Regions from separate parts of the Homo sapiens genome. Here region 2 is linked to region 1. Evidence: promoter capture Hi-C in 16 types of primary human blood cells and fetal thymus (Javierre and others, 2016). All regions are on one chromosome and are shown on one strand. Each heading gives the region's core, a stretch centred on a gene start or on the middle of the fragment in contact. The rest is flanking DNA. Distances are from core to core; before and after follow the strand shown. Region 1 holds the start of MPLKIP (M-phase specific PLK1 interacting protein). Region 2 holds the start of MRPL32 (mitochondrial ribosomal protein L32).

Region 1 (4,483 bases), core at 1,135-3,634:
GGTGGGGGGGCATGATAGGGTCTCGCTCTGTTACCCAGGCTGGAGTGCAGTGGCACAATAGCGGATCACTGCAGCTTCAACCTCCTAGGACTCAAGCCATCCCACCTCAGCCTCCCAAGCAACTGGGACTACAGGCGCACGCCACCAAGCCCGGCTAATTTTTTTTGTATTTTTGGTAGAAATGGGGCTTCACGATGTTGCCCAGGCTGGTCTTCAACTCCTGGGCTCAAGCAATCGTCCCACCTAGGTCATTTTATTCAATAAATATTCAAATGAGCAATTCCCAAGCATTAAGTTAAACACTAAAGACAATGTCCAGAAAGGTGAATTTTTGGCCAGGACAGAACTACTGTATTTAATAAAGTGGATAGGCTGGAGTCCTCCGACCTTAATTGTATCACTAAGCCTTAATGGCAACGTGCTACCTTGATTAAGTCTATCACTTGTATCTACAGAAGAAACGAAATGTAGTGAATTGAATTTCCACAGAATAAACAAACAAAAAAACTGTCTGTGTGTGTCTCCATTCATCAAGGAGGATAGAAGCTGAGAAGATACCACACTCGTCAGCTTGGGATGTCACAGAACATGTCAAAGAGACAGCGAGGAGTAGCAGCTACAAGAGGGTGAATGGAAATCACAGGTCCAGGCTACCCGTTAGGCTATGATTTAATGAGTCCTAAAGCTCTTTTAAGATTCTGTATCCTACGCCAGGCGCGGTGGCTCACGCATGAAATCCCAGCACTTCGGGAGGCAGAGGCAGGCGGATCACTTGAGCCCAGGAATTTGAGACCAGCCTGGCCAACATGGTGAAACCCGTCTTTACTAAAAATACAAAAAAATTAGCCGGGCATGTGGCACATGCCTGTAATCTCGGCTACTCTAGAAAGCTGAGGCAAGAGAATCGCTTGAACCCGCGAGGCAGAGGTTGTGGTGAACCAAGATCGCGCCACTGCACTCCAGCCTGGGCGACAGAGCGAGACTGTCTCAAAAAAAAAAAAAAAAATCCTGCATCCTGCAACTAATTTCAAGATTCATAGTGGGCCGCGCGCATAATCATAGAGATTACGTCTGTAATCTCAACACTTTGGGAGGCCGAGGCGGGAGGATAACTTGAGGTCAGGAATTCGAGACCAGCCTGGCCAATATGGCGAAACCCCGTCTCTACTAAAAATACAAAAATTAGTTGGGCGTGGTGGCGCATGCCTATAATCCCAGCTACTCGGAAGGCTGAAGCAGGAAAATCTCCTGAACACGGGAGGAGGAGGTTGCAGTGAGCCGAGATCGCGCCACTGCAGTCCAGCCTGGGCGAGACAGCGAGACTCCGTCTCAAAAAAAAGAGAAAAAAAGAAAAAAGGAAAAAAAAGATTCATAGTGGATTACCATTCCCAAATTCAGAGGGAGTAAAGAAAGTTCTATAACACTGTAGTAAAGCTAAATTTCATCCTCTAAATAAAATTCTGCAACAGGTAACTGTACAAGGGCATCTTTTATTGTACATGAAGTGTCAAGTTATTCAAAGCAGCGGGCTAAAGTCCTTTCTGAAATGTGGCTTGGTGTGCATTTTCGAAGTTACTTAAACTTGGCGGACGAAAGGACAGGAGTAAAGAGGCCCCAAACGCGAGCCGCGGGACGCGCAGGAGCGGGACCCCACGGCGCACGGAGCCCTCGGTCACAACAACGCACGGGACAGAGGCGACCCTGGGCGGCCAGAGCGGGGCAGGCCGGCCGCAGGCCCACGGAACGGGGTTGCAGGGAGGCGAGCAAAGCCACCGCTAAGGGGTCAGCAGAGACTTCAGACCCTAATTGCTCTCCTCAGGGCGCCCGAGGAGGCAAGCTGGGGCAGGGATCCCTTTAGCCACCCAGACCGAATCTCGGAGGGTACCTGACTGCGGGCGGCCAGTCCACAGCCCCCTCCCGCCGCCCCGGCCGGAGAAGAGGCAGGTTCTGCGCAGAGCTGCCACCCTCGCCAGCGTCGCCAGCATCGCGTGCGTCTCAGATGGCATCGGTCCCGGTGCAAGCGGCGAACTCCGTGCGGCGCCACCCGCCGCCACTGGGGGGCGCCCACGGACGCCGCAGACCCCGCCCCCGCCGGGCGGGGCTGAGCACTAGTCGCCTGCTGGGCCAGCTTCTAGTCTGTCGGTCAGACCAAGGGCACTCAGACTGGAAAGGTTGTTGCTGGGCTTGGGTGTCCGTCCTTTCCTGTCTCCTTTTCTTCCTCTTTTCACTTAAATCCACTGAGTCTCTCGCCAAGTCAGTGATTTAGGTAATCCCGCCGCCCCTGGCGGAACCTTTGTGACGCCGGAACTGATGTGCCGTAGGGTGGCTGCGGTCGGAGGACTGTTTTGGTAAAGGACTAGCAGTTCTCTGCGGAGGGCCGGTTGATACAGTTCCGGTGGGAGAACGCGGCTGCGAGGTTTTCGGCTTTGGCTCCTGATATGCAGCGACAGAATTTTCGGCCCCCAACTCCTCCTTACCCTGGTCCGGGTGGAGGAGGTTGGGGTAGCGGAAGCAGCTTCCGGGGAACCCCGGGCGGGGGCGGACCACGGCCGCCCTCCCCTCGAGACGGGTACGGGAGTCCGCACCACACGCCGCCGTACGGGCCCCGGTCTAGGCCGTACGGGAGCAGTCACTCTCCGCGACACGGCGGCAGCTTCCCGGGGGGCCGGTTCGGGTCTCCGTCCCCTGGCGGCTACCCTGGCTCCTACTCCAGGTCCCCCGCGGGGTCCCAGCAGCAATTCGGCTACTCCCCAGGGCAGCAGCAGACCCACCCCCAGGTAATAATAATAGCCAGCGTTTGCCGAGCTCTTACTTTATGGCAGGCACGGTACTAATATTCCCTTTACGTGGATTATTTTGTCTAATCCTCTCTGAGGTACTATTGTTAGCCCAATTTTGCAGATGAGCGAACTGAGGCTTAGAGAAGTTGAGTGACTTCCGGAAGATTATCCGAAAGAGTGGCAGAGCCGTACGTTCTGTTTTCGAGCCCTCGTGCTTTTAACCAATACACTGCCACCCGTACACAGATTTTCCTAATTCTCCATTTCCTCCTGTTTGCCAAAGGCCTTGCCAGTTTGTTTCAAGAAATAGTTCTTTTTCTTTTTTTTTTTTTTTTTTTTATCTTTCTTTCGAGCTACACTGGCTTCTGCTCCAACTTCCCTGAAAAGAAAATCGGTGGTAGTGGAAGTTTTCCATTCCTTTAGTGAGAGTAAATACAAAAGACAGAGAGAGTATCTCTAGCATGTCTGGGATTTCTGTGGTTTACAACTTGCAACTACGTGGTTTTCCAACTTGCTGTATTCTACACCAACCCCCTACCCCTTTTGAGCCTGGAGCTAAGGAGTAAAGAAAATGTTCATGAGCTAGAAAGGTTCTAGAAACTTTAAAACTATAGTATTGTTTTCTCCTGAAAAAAGTGAAAATTTCGAGGGAAAATTGAATATAATTACTTGATTTCATCACTGCTTGTATTTAATTACTGCAAAGTTACTACATTAGACACAAAAGTATTTGAGATGACAGTGGTCATGGAATTATAAATAAATGAGAATAACGAATTGCTTTAAGTACTTTTTTTAAAAAATAGGAACACTTGATTAAAGGAAGCATGGACTTTGTAATTGAACATTATTTAGGTTCAAGTCACAACTTTTAAGCAGCAATGTGATTCCCGCTAACCTTTAGCTAAAGGAAGAAGTACCAATTATCTTTACTAAGTGTTTTTTTAACTGATTTTTTTTCTAAAGGGTTCTCCAAGGACATCTACACCATTTGGATCAGGGCGTGTTAGAGAAAAAAGAATGTCTAATGAGTTGGAAAATTATTTCAAGCCTTCAATGCTTGAAGATCCTTGGGCTGGCCTAGAACCAGTATCTGTAGTGGATATAAGCCAACAATACAGCAATACTCAAACATTCACAGGCAAAAAAGGAAGATACTTTTGTTAACATTTCTGAAATTCAACTGGAAGCTTCATGTGTCAGGAACATCTTGGACAAAACTTTAAGTTGTGTTGATATAAATTTACCCAAAGATGATGACTTTGATTGGATAATTAGTAAGGTCTTTTTGTTATTTTTCATCGTATCAGGTATTGTTGATATTAGAGAAAAAAGTAGGATAACTTGCAACATTTAGCTCTGGAAGTACCTACCACATTTTAGAGATTTACCGTTTCCATATATTTAACATTCCTGGTTACATAATGGACATTTGTCTTTTAATGTTTTTTCAATGTTTTAAAATAAAACATTTTGTCTTCTAGCTATTGTGGTTTTGTGGTATGATAAAGAAGTAGACTTACTACAGTAATGCTTTGTAGTCACTTAGAGTTCATAGGTAAATGTTTTGCAAATTATTTTTGAAAATGAAATAGGTAAACCATCCTTTGAGCTGTAGACAGCTCTGTATTTGTTCGTAAATAATGAGGATGAGAATAACAGAGTTCTGTTCATACTCATTTTATCTAATGCTTCTGTTAAAA
Region 2 (4,483 bases), core at 1,211-3,710, 2.8 Mb before region 1:
AGTACATCCATGTTGTCAGCGAGGAGAATCTGAAATTGTCTGAGGATAGGAGAACACAAAGAAAATCTTTAAAAGAACATGAGGTCAAAAATCAGAGCTCGAAAATCTACTGCTTCATAGCTGTGTGACCACAGGCAAATTCTTTTTGCCTCAGTTTTTTCATCCTAATAATGAAGAATATCTTATTTGCTTTGGAGGGCTATAAGACATGATGAGATATAATAAACATAAGGCACTGAGATACATCATAGACACTTAATTGTTGTTAGCTATTATATTACTTATCTTAGGGTTTTCCTTCATGGTATTTTGTTGGAAATGATAAAAAAATAAAACAAATATGTAAGGGCTTGTAAAACCCAAGATTCAGTATACCTACTGCTTCTAGCTTTAATTCTAGGCTCTGCCATAGTTAGGATGTTTACTCATCTGTAGTTCAAAACTCACACAGCTCAAGACTGACACAGCTCACAATTCAGAAGTCATGTAGGCACCTCACAGCCTCGTTCCTTGCCCAGTCTCCAAACTCACTCCTTCCTTGACTGTGTTTCTAATACTCAGGCTAGAGGACAGCAGGCTCTAGCCTTCTCATTATGTATATAATGAGAATACTGTATTTCATTTAGGCCAGAGGAAAGTAGACACATATAATCTGATAATAATTTATTCCTAGGCTATAGGAATCTACCATGAGCTTATTCAATGGAGGACTTGAGGAAAAGCACACCCACAAAAATCAATGCATTACCTTAACTTTAATAAGCTTCTGCGGATTTCTTCTCCTACACCGGTTAACTTCAATGGTGCGTCTATTTTTGGGAGCTGCCATCCAAAAGATACTGTCCAAAAGGCTGGAATTCTCTTTACTTCCACTGGTATCATTTGCTGGCTCTGTAAACATGGCTGGGCCCTGTACTGCTAATGCTGGTCCTAGGAAATAAAACATAAGAGATACAGAATTAGTTTCTAGCTTCTAAATTACTATTTACAGATATCATTTTCCTTAACAATCAATGGTCAAACATACACACACACAAAAACTATATATAAAATTTAGAATGTGAAACTCAATAATGAGAAACCTTAGCTATTAAAATACACTAAAGCTTATACAATTTTAAGGAACACAGAATTTTTTCTTAGCGGATCCTGCTGAAAAGAAGATCAGTGAAATTCCATCAAGTTTCTTATCTCATAAAATACAGGACTCTGATAGGCACCTAACTTGAACAAAACAAGCAAAGAATCACTCAACTGTCCACATTCTATTAATACTTGGCGGGTAGTAAGTACCTGATTAATTTACAAGTAAATCTAGACAGATTTCCTGAATACACTTCTGACCGGCACTGATGTAACTGCCAATTGCCTTTTCTTATATTCAAACTGAGTCAGGTCCTTTATGATACAACCTCTTAAGTCACTTAGTTCCTCATAACATTTAATCTTGATTCCTGTCTGCTCTCTAAAGAAAAGAGCCAGCTCACCATTTCTCTGTATGGCCTTATTTATGTGACTATCAAAGTTTCTCTTTTTCTGAATTGCTTATAAAATCAACATTCCTTTACCCTTTCCTTGCTATTTCTTAGACGTGCCATACTTTTTTTTTTTTTTTTTGAGACTGAGTCTCACTCTGTCACTCAGGCTAGAGTGCAGTGGCGTGACCTCGGCTCACTGCAACCTCCGCCTCCCTGGTTCAAGTGATTCTCCTGCCTCAGCCTCCCAAGTAGCTGGGATTACAGGTGTGCACCACCACGCCTGGTTAATTTTGTATTTTTAGTAGAGACAGGGTTTCACAATGTTGGCCAGGCTGGTCTTGAACTCCTGACCTTAGGTGATGGACCCACCTTGGCCTCCCAAAGTGCTGAGATTACAGGTGTGAGCCACCGCGCCCAGCCCACATACTTCTTTTGATCTTAAGAACTCTTAAAAATACACAAAGTTCTCTAACACTTAACAACTGGCATTTATTTTCAGTATGTCCACAAGTATTGCCAAGCATGCCCCGGTGATTAACAACACAGGCTCAGGACTGTCTGTGAACTTGGGACCATTGTGAGCCTACTGTTTCAGTTGGAAAGTGTATACACCTAATGGGACTGTTGTCAAGATTATCCCAGGAAGTACATGTAGAAAGCTTGGCACATTGCTTGGCATATAGTGGCATATATTTTCTTGGTATATTTCTGGATATTATCACTTTCAGGCTGCTTAGAAATTGAGTAGAATGTAAATGCCAAAGCCATGACAGTTTCAACATCCAAGATACTTCCAATTAAAATTAATTCCAAGTGAAACATGGGAAACAGAATTCAGCTCCTCAGAGCTCAAACACCACAGAAAACATGTACTGCGCGGGAGGGAGGGAGGAAGGGAGGAAAGAAGGGAGGGAAGGGAAGGGAAGAGGAGAGGGGGGAGAGGGGAAGCGGGAGGGGAGGTGAGGGCAGGGCTGGAAAGGAAAGACAGATCCAGAGAGTGGTGAGCCTTGATGCCAAGTGAGACCTGCAGAACTGTCCTCTCAGGACAACTCTGTACAAATCCCTGAACTCCACAGACTTGACCAAACTCTAGCATAGTTTCTAGCAGCATAAGGCTGTATCCTAGGATGACCTCGGCCCCCCCTTTAAAGTGCCTGCCTGAGAAAGCTCAACGCTGCCTGGAAAATTTCCTATTTATTTTGGCCAACATACCCCGATAGTAGGTCCCGAACTCCCTTAGAGCATTTCCTGGAAAGGGCATATAATTGTAAATACGTATCCCTTGCAACTAACTCGGAAGCTTTTCTTTCAAGGCCCTGAGAGCCATTCCTTCGAAATCTAATCATTAGGAAGGATAGGGCCTTTGTCTCCCAGTCTCTGCGGGAGGATAGAATTCTCCCTAAGACAACTGCGAGCTAGCAGACACAGCCGGCTAATCACATTTGCACTGACTTCACTATACTACACTTCTCTGACTCTACAGAGCCCCTACACTCCCGCCTCGCTCATTCTCCCTTTAAAACGCCCAAAGTCACCTCTGCACAAACCGGGATGGAGCTCAGCTCTTTACCTGCAGTAGTTACTGAATAAAATCTGTTTTCAGCGCTTTACTTACTGGCTGGCTATGATTTATCTTTGACACAAGCTTGGGTTACATTCTGTGTACGAATGGAACAAGCAGAGGAATTTTTTTTTTTTTTTTTTTGCGGTGGAGGGAGCGCAAAAACAGTCGTTCTGTTCTCGCTAATATGGGAATGTCACGAACTACGTCCCCGACATGAGGCCGCGGATCAGAACCGGGGCTGAGGGCGAACTGTGTAAGCTGCGTCTGCTACGCTGCCCGAGGTCCCGTCATCAGCCCCCTCTCCCACGGAGCCCTTCTTTACCTACCCCACGGAGGACTGGGAAAGCCCGGCCGGCTCTGCGGAAGCTTCCGTAGCAGTCGCTCCCAGTAGTTTCGAAGCACTCCCCGGGCCGCAGACCACGGCGAAACCACCAAGACCAGCATGGCCAGCGCCATTTTCCCTGCTGGAAGACCGCCCCGGTCCCGCCCCTGCTTTCAGCATGCGCACAGGCACAGAATCGGGCAAGCCTCGCTTCTTAGAACTACAACACCCCGCATGCTCTTGGAGCAGCTCTGACTCTCCTCCAATCATAGAGAGTAAAGGAAAGGTGAGGGGCGGGGAAATGAAAGGAAATCGGCCACAGTGCGCATGTGTGCGGCTGTGCTTTGGCTCTTCGGGTAAAGATGGCGGAGCGCGGGTACAGCTTTTCGCTGACTACATTCAGGTATGGAAGGGGCCCTCGAGGTCTTCAGCGTAGTCGAGGTTGCTGGTACTCTGTCGATTTAGTTTTTCCCATCCTGACGTCGGCATTGGTGCTTCTGGAGGGTCCAGTAGGGAATGGAGTTGGAAATGCGGCTTTGCAAAGTCATTTGCCAGGCCGACCCGGGATTCCTGGAGCTTCCTTGGTCGGAGGCTGCTGGAGGGTCGGGGGGATGCGGTTTTGCGGGGTTAACATGGGGCTGCGGGACGGTGAGGCACATAGCCAAGGATTCGCTTTCACTTTGGAGACCAGAAAAGAAGGCAGTTTTAGCTTAACCATCTCTGGGTGGCCCGTTCCGAACTCAGGATTTTTTTCCTGGCTCAAGTAGACCTGATGCGGTGGTTTCTGAAACTTGGAATCTTGGTCAAATATGTGGGGTTCCCTTTTCTTGGAAAACTCTCAGCTTTACAGTTAAGTCGGAGTCTTGGTCTCCATTTGGCACTAGTGTCTTTCAAAACCTCCCGCTTTCGGTTTCTTCGATGCACGAATTAGAAACATAAGGACTAAAAACCGAAAGCCCCTATCACTTTTTTGTGAACCCCTAACAACGAGGCAAGTTTGAGTTTTGGTCTTTTTTTGGTGGACTGGGGGGAACGTCGGGGAGGGGGATGTTTACTTTAAACAAGATTGTAGGTTTTTCTATTGTAGAAAAGGGGATTAGAATAATAAGTTTACTTTCC

The links. The method cuts DNA at HindIII sites, captures the fragments that hold promoters and counts their contacts. A CHiCAGO score of 5 or more calls a contact.
Region 2: a contact is called between a fragment that was not itself captured here and the fragment with the promoter of MPLKIP in region 1, in 1 of 17 cell types (total B cells). The highest score is 6.4, in total B cells.

Annotation. Positions count from the first base shown.
Region 1 is chr7:40,132,523-40,137,005 of GRCh38, reverse strand. MPLKIP (M-phase specific PLK1 interacting protein) reads left to right here and starts at 2,384. Exons shown (of 2, transcript NM_138701.4): 1 at 2,384-2,777; 2 at 3,747-4,483. The coding sequence starts at 2,439. The coding sequence ends at 3,947. It overlaps SUGCT (succinyl-CoA:glutarate-CoA transferase), which reads right to left and starts at 2,001. Exons shown (of 14, transcript NM_001193313.2): 1 at 1,886-2,001. The coding sequence starts at 1,985. RefSeq lists silencers at 1,929-2,128, 2,589-2,658 and an enhancer at 2,309-2,378. The HindIII fragment of the contact is 4,548 bases long and covers 1-3,972 here.
Region 2 is chr7:42,931,402-42,935,884 of GRCh38, reverse strand. MRPL32 (mitochondrial ribosomal protein L32) reads right to left here and starts at 3,509. Exons shown (of 3, transcript NM_031903.3): 1 at 3,369-3,509; 2 at 749-930. The coding sequence starts at 3,498. It overlaps PSMA2 (proteasome 20S subunit alpha 2), which reads left to right and starts at 3,711. Exons shown (of 8, transcript NM_002787.5): 1 at 3,711-3,767. The coding sequence starts at 3,727. RefSeq lists an enhancer at 3,331-3,560. The HindIII fragment of the contact is 641 bases long and covers 2,140-2,780 here.